3 separate regions of the Homo sapiens genome follow, and all the other regions are linked to region 1. The links are contacts of gene promoters, found by promoter capture Hi-C in blood cells and fetal thymus (Javierre and others, 2016). All regions are on one chromosome and are shown on one strand. The core of a region is centred on a gene start or on the middle of the fragment in contact, and the rest is flanking DNA. Distances in the headings are between cores, read along the strand shown. Region 1 holds the start of SLC22A13 (solute carrier family 22 member 13). Region 2 overlaps ACVR2B (activin A receptor type 2B). Region 3 overlaps DLEC1 (DLEC1 cilia and flagella associated protein).

Region 1 (3,762 bases), core at 433-2,932:
CACATACAGGCATATCACAACACGTTAGGGCTGGTGAAGGCTGGCACCAGCCATGGATGTGATGCTGGGGAGATGATGGAGAGGACAGTAAGGGTCAGAAGGGGCTAAGCTGGCCAGCCTCAGAGCCTGGGAGCATGCACAGGCTCCCTAGAGCTCCCTGTGGTGTGGGGTGGGGTGGGGTGGGGGAGAGTTGGGAGAAGGACAGGCAGGACATATCCGCAGGCTGCCAGGCTTCTGGGAGCAGTTTTATGGTCACACATTAAAAAGTGAAAGTTAAGCTTTGGTTAACACATTGGTCTCTGACAACCTCTAAAAATAAATACTTTTTCAGCCATGGGGTGGGGAAGAAGTGAATGTTTAATCCCAGATTTTCCACCATAAAGAAGATGAGAATTATACAGATCCCCTCAAGCACCCATGCCCCTCAGGTTTCTGGACTATCTGTGCTGCCTCACACTCCTGTGGGAATCTAGACAGCAGGTATCTGGCATGAGAGCCCCAGCTCCATGATCAGCTCACTGCATTGCCCTGGCTAAGCCATATCCTCATTCTGTGCCTCAACCCCAACATCTGGGAAGCAACAGAGTGGGACTGGATGCTTTCAGAGGGCCCCTCTTGCTCGGAGGTGGCTAGGATGGGAACTTTTCTGCCTGCATCTCTCCTAAAAGAATGAAGTTAGCAAGAATGAACGCTTAGTTATCCACAGGACAAGTCCTAGAGTCCTGGATGTTCTCCAGCGTCCCAAGGGCAGGCTGGCAGAGACCTAGAGAGAAAAGCTGAAAGTTTTGAAGCCCAGCAAGCAGGAAGGCAGTGAAATGGACAGGGAAAGGGATGGCATTAGAGGGTTAGGAAAATAGGAACATAGGCAGACATGCAGGGGTAGACTGAAAGACAAAGAGAACTGGACAGACAGATGAGCACACTGGGTAGAGAGAAAGGCACAAAGATAGGAAAAGAGGAGAGGACACCAACTGGGTAGATAGCCAGAGAGACAAGGAAAGACAGAGACGACAGAAGGATGGGCAAAAAATGGACAGATGGGCAGACAGACTGGACAGAGAAGATGACAGACAGATGGGTCAATAGGCAGAGGACAAAGAGGAAAATGAGATTGACAAAATGAAAAACATATGTGCCCATGGTTGACCATATGGGCATGGGGCAGATACAGAGCCAGTGACTGAGGGCGAAGAGTCAGGCACAAGACCTGACAGACCCACAACCGGTGGAGAGACCAGCAAAAGGACAAGCCTACCTCATTCTTCAGGGATGGGAGCCTGTTCTCAGGATATTCCCAGCCCATATCACAAGGCTGCGTCTCATTGAAGCGGTGGCTGAGGATGTCCTGCAGGCTGGCATTGGCGGGGGGTGGCCGGAACATGAGGCAGGGCTCTGGGTGACCTGCAGTGTCCAGGGGCACGCTCAGTACCAGCTGTTCAGCAGCACTCAGGTTGAAAGTGTGGTTCTTCACCCAAGCCACTGCACAGTGGTGGGGCTCATCTAGGACCATGAAGACATGGGCAAAAAAGTAGAAGGGAGACAGGAAGTTGAGAACACACAGCAGGATCAATAGCTGTATCTGGAAGCGACCAAAGTCACCTATTTCAGCCAGGACCTGGACAAACTGAGCCATGTATGCCAGTCACTACCTCCTCAGCCTGGGGACACTAGGGTAGCTCTGTAGCTTGGCTCTGGGAACTTGCTCCTCTGGGCAGTGGTGATAGCTGCATTAATGTTTAATCCAGCCTTGCCCTGCTCCACCTGTCACTCCTCAGCCCCCTAGGTGTGACTTGGGAAGGGTAGAATATGATGAAAAAATAGTCCACATGGATGAAGTTGGAAACAATCATCCTCAGCAAACTAACACAGGAACAGAAAACCAAACACCGCATGTTCTCACTCATAAGTGGGAGTTGAACAATGAGAACACATGGACACAGGGAGGGGAACATCACATACCAGGGCCTGTCAGGGGGTGGGGGACAAGGGGAGGGAGAGCATTAGGACAAATATCTAATGCATGTGAGGCTTAAAACCTAGATGATGGGTTGATAGGTGCAGCAAACCACCATGGCACATGTATATCTATGTAACAAACCTGCACATTCAGCACATGTATCCCAGAACTTAAAGTAAAATAAAAAAAATAGAAAAATAAATAGTTCACTCCAGCTTATAACATCTGAGGATGTTTTATTAACTGTGTAAAAGATACAGTCATCACAAGAGGAACCAAGAGGACCTTGTCAGGCCCAGCACACAGGAGTGAGCTTAGCCAAATGTTAAGATGGCTTATAGCAACCAGCCAGCCCGCACCACCTCTAATTGCAATATCCTAAACAATTCACACTCAACTCAAATGAGACAGGTAGATGGGTCAACCAATAGGCGAGGTAAAACCACTACAGTAAAACCCTGAGAGTAGTTGCAGCACTCAGAGGGACACAGAATTCCCTTCTAGGGACAGCCCACACTAGGCAGCATGGATAAGCAGGAGAGCAACAAGCACTTAGCCTGCAGATAAACTTTGCCAGCAGCCCAATCTGGCCTCTTGATCCTGATGATTTTTCTCTCCTGTGGGTGTCTGGTATGTGGTGATATGCAATACCTGCCAATCCTAGGAAGCAGCATGCAGGCCAGGAGCCCCACCAAAAGCACAAGTGCACTGTCTTTTCAACATCAAAGACAAACCAAGAATACAGAGCAATGACAGAGCTGCATTTTGAGCTCTACTTTAATCAAGAAGGAAACCATTAACACACTCTAAAGATGAAAACAAATGCACGTACCCCAGCCTCCCTGAGCAATGTCAGTGACAATGAACACAAGACAAAGTATGCCTCCACCACAGCCCACACACACACCAGGTGCATACACATATTCATGTCTGCTTGTGTATGCATAAGAAAGCATTTTCATGTTCTCAATTTTGAACTATTTTAAGGCATGAGCAGAGGAACATTGCTGAAGGGAATGCAAGGAAGCAAGGTTGTGCAGGGCAGCCCTGGCCACCTGACTGGCACAGCTGCTGGAAGCCTGTTAATCAGTCAGCCTGCAGTACAGGTCAAGGCAGGGCAGACAGTGGAGGGCAGAAGCAAGGCCTGACATGCTGCTCAGGGAGCATGCTTTGCTCTTTGCCCCACCCCAACCTCTCCCACCAGGATCACCACTGTCCCCAGCTCTTTTTTCCTTCACTTAGCTTCCTTGAGTGTTCTTATTCTTAGCATTGTCTTTATTGAATTGCCAAGAAAACAACTGCTACCAGTCACCACTGCCTAGTCTGGTATTCCCCTTATGGGGAAGAACTGAGATGGAGACATAAGCCTTGTCCTCTGCCCTCATCATCTCCTCATTCCAGTCAGAAAAGGAATTTTTGCTTTGTTTGGCTCCAAGCAACCAAGAGAGCTAGAGCTAGGAGGTAGGAAACTTGAGCTCTGCCACTGATTCACCCTGAGAATCTGTTCCTGGCTCTGGCCCTCAATTGCCCCATCTAGGTAAAGGATGGTCTCTAAAGATTCTTCTACTTCTTGGTGTACAATTCTAAAATAGAGAAAGACAGAATGATTAGCAGACTCCTGACAAGAGTGAGGCCTGATCAAAGACCTCCCTAGAGTCAGTCTCCAGCTGAACTATGATCCCCAAACCTTGGAACTGAGGCACCGAATGTCACTGGTCTCACATTATCTCTACATTCCCCAAATCCTGATGTTTTGGTTTACTTCTTTCTCCTCTTAACTTTATCCTCCCTTCCTCCCCACCACA
Region 2 (3,762 bases), core at 440-2,939, 210 kb before region 1:
CGGGGGTGGCTCGTACGTGACTGGGGGACACACAGAGCCCTGTGTCAAACAGTCTGCCCACCCTCACACTTCCAGAGCCAGACTACAGGGCCCTGTAGCCACACCCCACCCAACTGAGGAGCCAAGCGCTCCAAGCCAAAGAAGCCCAGGTCGGCTGACTCAAGGCCCCACTTCCACACTGCCCCCTTACCTTCCGGGCCCCCAGCCTCTGGCAAATGAGTGAAGCGTTCGTTGCAGAAGTTGCCTTCACAGCAGCAGAAGTACACCTGGGGGTTCTCCTCAGTGGCCACACACTCCTGCCTGGAGGCACAGAATTTTCCATATACCCCTCACCTGGGGGATGCAAGACTCCCCCAGGCCTGCCCTGCCAACCCCTCCTCACAGACAGAGCACCTCATGGGCAACACCAGGGGGACGGTGTGAACTCACCTCCCCTACAGGAGACCCAAAGCCAAGGAAGAACAGCCAGGGGTTGACACTGAGACCCCTCCTCAGGGCTAAGGTAGGACAAATAGGGTGTGGAAGGGCGTGGGGCCATGGCTACCATCTCAAGAGCCCCTTCTTGGTCCTTTATCTCCCACTCAGACATCCTGAGACCCAAATGGCCCAGTGGGCAGTATAAGCGCAGGTGGGTCCAAGAGGAAAGGAGGGCAAGTCTTGGGGTACCTATCGTAGCAGTTGAAGTCATCTAGCCAGCAGCCCTTCTTCACGAGCTCGATGGTGCCAGAGCTGTTGCGCCAGGAGGCGTAGCAGTGCAGCCGCTTGTCCTGCTCGCCTTCGCAGCGCTCCAGGCCGCTCTGGTTGGTGCGCTCCAGCTCCCAGTTGGCGTTGTAGTAGATGCACTCCCGTGTCTCAGCCTCCCCACGCCCAGAGCCTGTGCCCCAGAGAAAAGAGAACCACTGAGCATGCCCCTGGGACCACCACCCAAACCCCTACTCCCAGTCCTGGGTGCCAGGCCACCCTGAGGGAGGGAGGCCGGGTGGTGGGTTGGGGTCACCAACCTCCTGCACTCACCCCTGGACGTAGGCCACCCATCCGTCCCACACCTCTTAATTTACGTGTGCCAGCTGGCACCAGCCCCCACCTCATTCTGCAGCCCATCACAGCTGCCCCTAGGCCTAAGCAAAAGGGAGGAGGCAGGAAACCTAATGCCACAGAAGGATGGATAAACAGCCAGACAGACAGAGTCCAGATGCACAGAAAGGGCACCAACACCTGAGGCTCCTGCGTGGGGGTGGGGGCTACTTCCCTGCTGCAGCAGAAACCGATGAAGAGGCCCCCTTAAAACCCCAGTGCACATCGGAATCACTGTATGTTGCAGGTGTGGGAAAGGGGAGCAGTGTTCATTCAAATACGTATTTCCAGGCCCAATCCAGACCCATCCCAATGGGAATGGGGGCAGAATATGTGCTTTTAATCACCCCTGTCTGTCTCAGGTGATTGTGATAAAGATCTCAAGGACCACCTGGGAAAACTACAAAGGGGAGTGGCTTCCTGCTGCTCCTGTCTCTGCCCCCAAGCCCCCTTCTCACAACAGTTCCCCAGGGAGACCATGCCAGTGGGTCCTCCACAACTCCCTGCCCATACGGAATGGAAAGGACCCTGTAAGTGTCCTTTCTACACCCAGCAACCACACCTGGTGCTCGGCAGGGCTGGAGAACTTAAGGAATGAGGCCTGCGTGTACAGGGTAAGCCTCCCAGAGTCACCAAGGGGAATACATGCCTCAGGCAGAGGAGAGCTAGCTGGTGGCTTAACCTGCAATCACAGATCATTCTCCTGGCTAGGCTCCTGATGACCCCAGGGCACTCCCCATCACTTCTGAACCCCCTTCCACCTGCTGCAGGAAGTGCCATCCAGGTGGACAACGACTTCAACCCCCACCTGCCCATTCAAACACTTTCCTTCAAACTTGATTTCAAACATTCCCCAAATCCATCTTCCTCACCATCCCCTACAAAACAACCTCCAGTCCCAGCCCCAGTCTACTCCCACTACCCGCAGGAACCACATAGCCCTGACATAGGAAAGAGTATGGAGATGCCAAAGGAGGTTCGGTTCTGTCTGAGAGCTCTGCCAGCACCCCATTATAGGCCGCCCACAATGGAGGCAGGTGGTGGCATTTACAACCTCACTGCCAGAACCCCACACAGACACCCGAGAGGATAGTTGCACCAAGCATCCAGCCATCCTATCCACACTTTTTGGGCCCACATAGGCCAGTGACCTGGCACCACTCCTGGCTGGTCTTCTCCTACCACTATTCCCATCCCAGGAAGGAGGGAGGGGTCAGAGTCAATCCCACCAGACAGCCAGCCCACCAGCAGCCAAGAGCCCTACTTCGCCATCAGCCTGAAAGGCTGACTGGAGTAGGAAAGAACACGAACCCTGCCCTGACCCTGGGGGAGGGCAAAGTACCCTGAACACTAGCGTAGCCTAAGGACATCCTCACGCTCATCTCCACCCCTACTGTTGGCCTTCATGAGGAAAGAGCTTGATTTCCCAGGGTATACCCCAGAGAGAAGGATACTGACTGGCTGTCAGGTGAAAGAAGCCCCCCACCACTGGAGCGGCCATTCTCCTGTCAAACCCAACCCCTTTCTGCAACTCCCTGAAGTGACAGGATGCTTCTTCCAGGGGCAGGAGCAAGCAACGAATCTCAAGGATCCAGGTAGCACCTAAGGGTCCGAAATGTCACCCAATCAGAATGGCAGTGCCCAGCCACAGCTCTGGTCATCCTGCACCAGGTGGCCTAGGCTCTGACACCTGTGAAAGGAAAATGCATGGCCTCCTGACCAGTCAGTCAGCTGGGACTCAGCCTCTTCTAAAGGAAGGGCCTCAGGGTCCACAGAGAGGCTTACAAGGGTACACACTGGCTTCCCCAGCCAGGCCCTTCATCAAGCATGTGGCTTTAAGGTTTAGAGGGAGAACCTGAGAGGGTGGGGTGGGGGTAGTAGACCAAAGGCTGAACAAGCACACCGGGGCCAGGACTGAGGCTTGCACCTACATTGTCCCTGTCTGCCTGCAGCAGCACCCAATTACTGGGTTATTCGAAGCACCCTGCCCAGAGGCCACAGGGCCTCCTCTCCCCAGGCTGGGCCCCACTGCATCCACGGCAGCAGTTCTAGTGGGGGTCCGTGGAGACCTGAGACTTGTGGGGCCAGCCATGAAGCTGCACTGCAGACAGGGAAGCTGGGCACTCCCCTACCTTCCTCCCCTCACTGCAGCCACACCATAATGTCACACCCTTGAATGTGTTTGGCTTCTAGGCTTAGCGTAAGTCGGAAGTTACCACCTCTGGCCGTAAGGTTACCCACCTTCCTCTGATTTCGGCTCTTCCCTCTCCCCTGAGACCAGGCAAACTCTCTATTTCCACTGGCCCTTGTGCTTCCCCTGCCACCTAACTTAACCACCCTTGACTAATGGCCTGTTGTTGCTTAAAGGATTATTTCAGACATCCAAAAAGTGTACCAATAATATAACCAAAAATAATCTCAAGAGGAAATAACACAATGAACACTTGTATGAGAAATAAAACATTACACATGTACTCGACAACTACTTTCTAAATGTCAGGCTTTCCCCACAAGACTGGAAAGCCGACAAAGGCAGGACCCTTGCCGTCCTAAGTGGCAGAATCATTCCAAACACATCATAGATGGATGGGTGGACAGACAGAAGGACAGAAGGGTATAGGTATCATGGCTAGAGCAACATGTCGAAAGGAGGGGACAACAAGGATGGCCTCAGCCTGCAGCCCAAGC
Region 3 (3,762 bases), core at 514-3,013, 160 kb after region 1:
AATAGAAAATAGAAAAACATTACAGAAAATCAACAAAAGCAAAAGCTGGTTCTTTGAAAATATCACCAACATTGATAAACCTTTAGCTAGACTAGACTGACCAAGAAAAATTTGCTGAAGATTCAAATTAGAGAAATCAGGAATGAAAGTGGGGACATCACTACTGATCATACAGAAATAAAAATAATTATCAGAGAATACCACTAACAACTATGTACCAACAAATTACATCACAGATAAAATGGACAAATTCCTAAATTCCTAGAGTGATGCAAACTACCAAAACTGAGAAAAAAAAAAAAATCTTTTTTTGGGGGGATGGGGTGGGGCATACAGAGTCTTGCTCTGTTGCCCAGGCTGGAGTGCAGTGGCACAATCTCGGCTCACTGCAGCCTCTGCCTCCCACGTTCAAGCTATTCTCATGCCTCAGCCTCCCGAGTAGCTGGGATTACAGGTGTGCACCACCACACCCGGCTAATTTTTGTATTTTTAGTAGAAATGGGGTTTCACCATGTTGGCTAGCCTGGTCTCGTACTCCTGACCTTAGGTGATCCGTCCACCTCAGCCTCCCAAAGTGCTGGGATTACAGTCATGAGCCACTGTGCCTGGCCAAGAAAAAAGTCTAAATTGACCTATATAAGAAATTCAGTTACAAACATACCTCATGTTATTATGCTCTGCTTTATTGTACTTCACAGATACTGTGATTTTTACAAATCGAAGGTTTGTGACAACGCTGCATTGAGCAAGCCTATCAATGTCATTTTTCCAATTGCATGTCCTCATTTCATGTCTCTGTGTCATGTCTTGCAAACTTTTTTGCTATAGCTGTTATGGTAACCTGTGATTAGTGATCTTTGATGTTACTACTGTAATTGTTTTGGGGTGCCATAAACAGCAATCATATACGATAATGGGCTCAACTGGTAAATGCTGTGTGCATTTTGACTGCTCTACTTACTGGTCATTTCCGTCTCTCTCCCTCTCCTCAGGCCTCCCTATTCCTTGAGACACAACAATATTGAAATTAGACCAACTGATAACCCTACAATAGCCTCTAAGTCTTCAAGTGAAAAGAAGAGTCGTACGTATCTCACTTTAAATCAAAATGATTAAGCTAAAAAATGATTAAGCTTAGTGAGGAAGGCACATTCAAAGCTGACACAGGCAGAAAGCTAGCTTTGTGCCAAACAGACAAATTGTGAATGCAAAGAAATGTAATATCTAGCAAATGCCCTATTTGTGAAAATTTTGAAGTAAAAGATAATAAAGCAAATAAAATGTTATGCAAACAAGGAAAAGAAAATAGGAGAAAGAAATAATGTGATCAGGTTAACTGATAAAACAGAGGAGAACAAAACTGCTGCTTGAAATCCCTGCACAGGTTACGTGCAATGCAATCCTTAATGATGGAATGAGGGCATCAAAGGGCGGGGGAGCTGAGCAAAGCACTGCTGAAGATCCATTGGCTTAGCCAGGTCAGGGCTCCAGCCCCAGAGCTCAGAGCAACACATGGAAGAGTGGGCTGCCCCAGGCACAGAAGTCAAATATCACATGATCTCACTCAAGTGGGTGCTAAAAACGTGTACATATGGACATAGAGATTGGAATGATAGACAACGGAGACTCGGAAGGGTGAGGGCATAGGAGGGAAATGGGTGATGAGAAATTAGTTCATGAGTACAATGTATGCTATTTGGGTGATGGATACCCTAAAGCCCTGACTTGACCACTATATAATCTACGCACATAACACAATTGCACATGTACCCCATAAATTTGTACAAATAATAAAAATTAAAATTGAAAATTAAGAAAAAGACTGGGCTGCCACAGTATTTGCCCCCACTGAAGACTGTGGGTATCACGCTGGAGAGAGGCCAGGGCAGAGCCTGCAGTAACACTGGACCTCTCAACTGTCATGAGGAGGAAACAACCAGAAAGATGCTATTCCTTCATTCTTATTTATGAATGAAGGCACGAATTGATTTGTGTAGCTGCCCAGTATGGGTTTTCTCCACTGTTTGTTTAGGGCTGTTTTCCCCAAAGGTCCCTTTCTCTGATGGATTCAGGCTAGCTGTGTGCTCTGAGGGTGGTGACTCACATGTACTTCATCCCTTAGAATAGGGGTGCTCTCCACATCTACCCCCTTTTACTCAGAAGAAACTTACAACACCAGCTCCTTATGCAAATCAACTTCCTCCTCCATTCAAAAACAGGACTGGACAGGCAAAGATTACTAGAAGCAGAAGAAAACTCAAAAAGTAAAGAAGAACTCCAACATCTGGGAAAACAGAAATTCATTTTCTTGGGGGAATCTGAGAGGCTGTTGCATTGATAAGACTATAACAGATTACTATAGAAAAGGAAAGACGCAAGAACAACAAAGCTTGAAATTTCGAAACATGATTGCCTCTTCTGGAGACAGATCCTCCCTGTCACCCAGCAGGGGAAGGGGCGGGTACATGACCCACACAAGAGCAAGAGCAATCAGGGCCTATCTCTGCAAAGAGCCAGATTGGCTCTCAGAGATTGTTAAGGTGGGAGTGTGTGAGCCTGGAGCTCTAAGTGGCCTCTCCCCAAGGCAGAGTGCGAAGGGCCCTTGTCAATAGGGGAGAGAAGGGCCCACAAAAAAAGAGCAGTAGATGGGTTGGGGCTGGGATGGAGGTAGAGAAGGGGGAAAGAGGGTAGAGAAAGAGAGGAAGCAGAAGACCAGACAAAGGGAAAAGTGTTGGGCCCTTGGATTCAGCAAGGTGGGAATGCCCAGTTACGTGAGCCAATGCTTCCTCTTTTTTGCCTAAGTTGGTAATGTCTGTGTTTCCATCACCTGCTACTGTAAACATTCTGATAATACAAGGTCCTTTCAGGAGAAAGAACAGAGACAGAAAAGGAAAGGAAATAAGCACAGACTTAATAGAAAGCCCTTCCCCTGAGCTGCAGGCAGACTTAGCCTTCACATCTAATGCCCGCAAATTGCCCTGAAGGACCAATGCAAAGACTCATACCTAGACCTGTATTTGTTATCACAGGAGGGGACATTTGAACAACTGTCAGATGGTCAAGTATACAAAGTCCAACAACATTTGTCATGGTGAAAGTGTGGGGTAATGGCTAGTCTCACACACTGTAGGCAGAAGTATAAAATGACACAGTCTTTTTGGAGGATAATTCAAGAGCATCCACAGAGATTTAAATGAGCATTTAAATGTTTTTACAATGAAACACCAAATATATGCAAAAATGAGTATAAAACATATATACAGTTTAAACATATATATAGTTTAACGAATAATAAAACAACATCTATGTACTACCTCCACACAACTTTAGAAACAAAATATTATCACCAGCCAGCTTAAGAAAATGAATATATATATATATTCATTCACTGCAACCTCTGCCTCCAGGATTCAAGTGATTCTTCTGCCTCAGCCTCCTAAGTAGCTGGGACTACAGGCGAGCACCACCATACCTGGCTAATTTTTGTATTTTTAGTAAAGACGGGGTTTCACCATGTTGCCAGGCTGATCTCGAACTCCTGACCTCGTGATTTGCCTGCCTCGGCCTCCCAAAGTGCTGGGATTACAGGCGTGAGCCACCATGCCCAGCAGGAAAATGAATATTTTATTTGAAAATAATTTGGGAAGGAGTGGGGAGAAGGAGATAGGGGATATGGATGAAACAGTACTTGCAGTGAGTTGACAATTATTGAAGGGAGGAAAGAGTATGTGGAGGTTTATTATACTATTCTTTCTGTTTTTA

What was found. Contacts are between HindIII fragments. The CHiCAGO score rates a contact against its expected background, and 5 or more counts as called.
Region 2: a contact is called between a fragment that was not itself captured here and the fragment with the promoter of SLC22A13 in region 1, in 1 of 17 cell types (M1 macrophages). The highest score is 5.5, in M1 macrophages.
Region 3: a fragment that was not itself captured here is called in contact with the fragment with the promoter of SLC22A13 in region 1 in 2 of 17 cell types (erythroblasts and M1 macrophages); the score reaches 5.3 in erythroblasts.

Annotation. Positions count from the first base shown.
Region 1 is chr3:38,263,732-38,267,493 of GRCh38, reverse strand. SLC22A13 (solute carrier family 22 member 13) reads right to left here and starts at 1,682. Exons shown (of 10, transcript NM_004256.4): 1 at 1,256-1,682. The coding sequence starts at 1,633. RefSeq lists a silencer at 2,402-2,696. The HindIII fragment of the contact is 6,926 bases long and covers 281-3,762 here.
Region 2 is chr3:38,474,399-38,478,160 of GRCh38, reverse strand. It overlaps ACVR2B (activin A receptor type 2B), which reads right to left. Exons shown (of 11, transcript NM_001106.4): 2 at 667-874; 3 at 191-300; 4 at 1-20. Among named protein-coding and RNA genes, the nearest start is that of EXOG, 20 kb to the left of the region's middle. RefSeq lists an enhancer at 1,110-1,609. The HindIII fragment of the contact is 9,698 bases long and covers 1-3,762 here.
Region 3 is chr3:38,101,024-38,104,785 of GRCh38, reverse strand. All of the region lies in intron 19 of DLEC1 (DLEC1 cilia and flagella associated protein), which reads right to left. It overlaps LOC105377033 (a long non-coding RNA gene), which reads left to right. Exons shown (of 2, transcript XR_940727.3): 2 at 993-1,296. Among named protein-coding and RNA genes, the nearest start is that of ACAA1, 34 kb to the left of the region's middle. The HindIII fragment of the contact is 1,256 bases long and covers 1,136-2,391 here.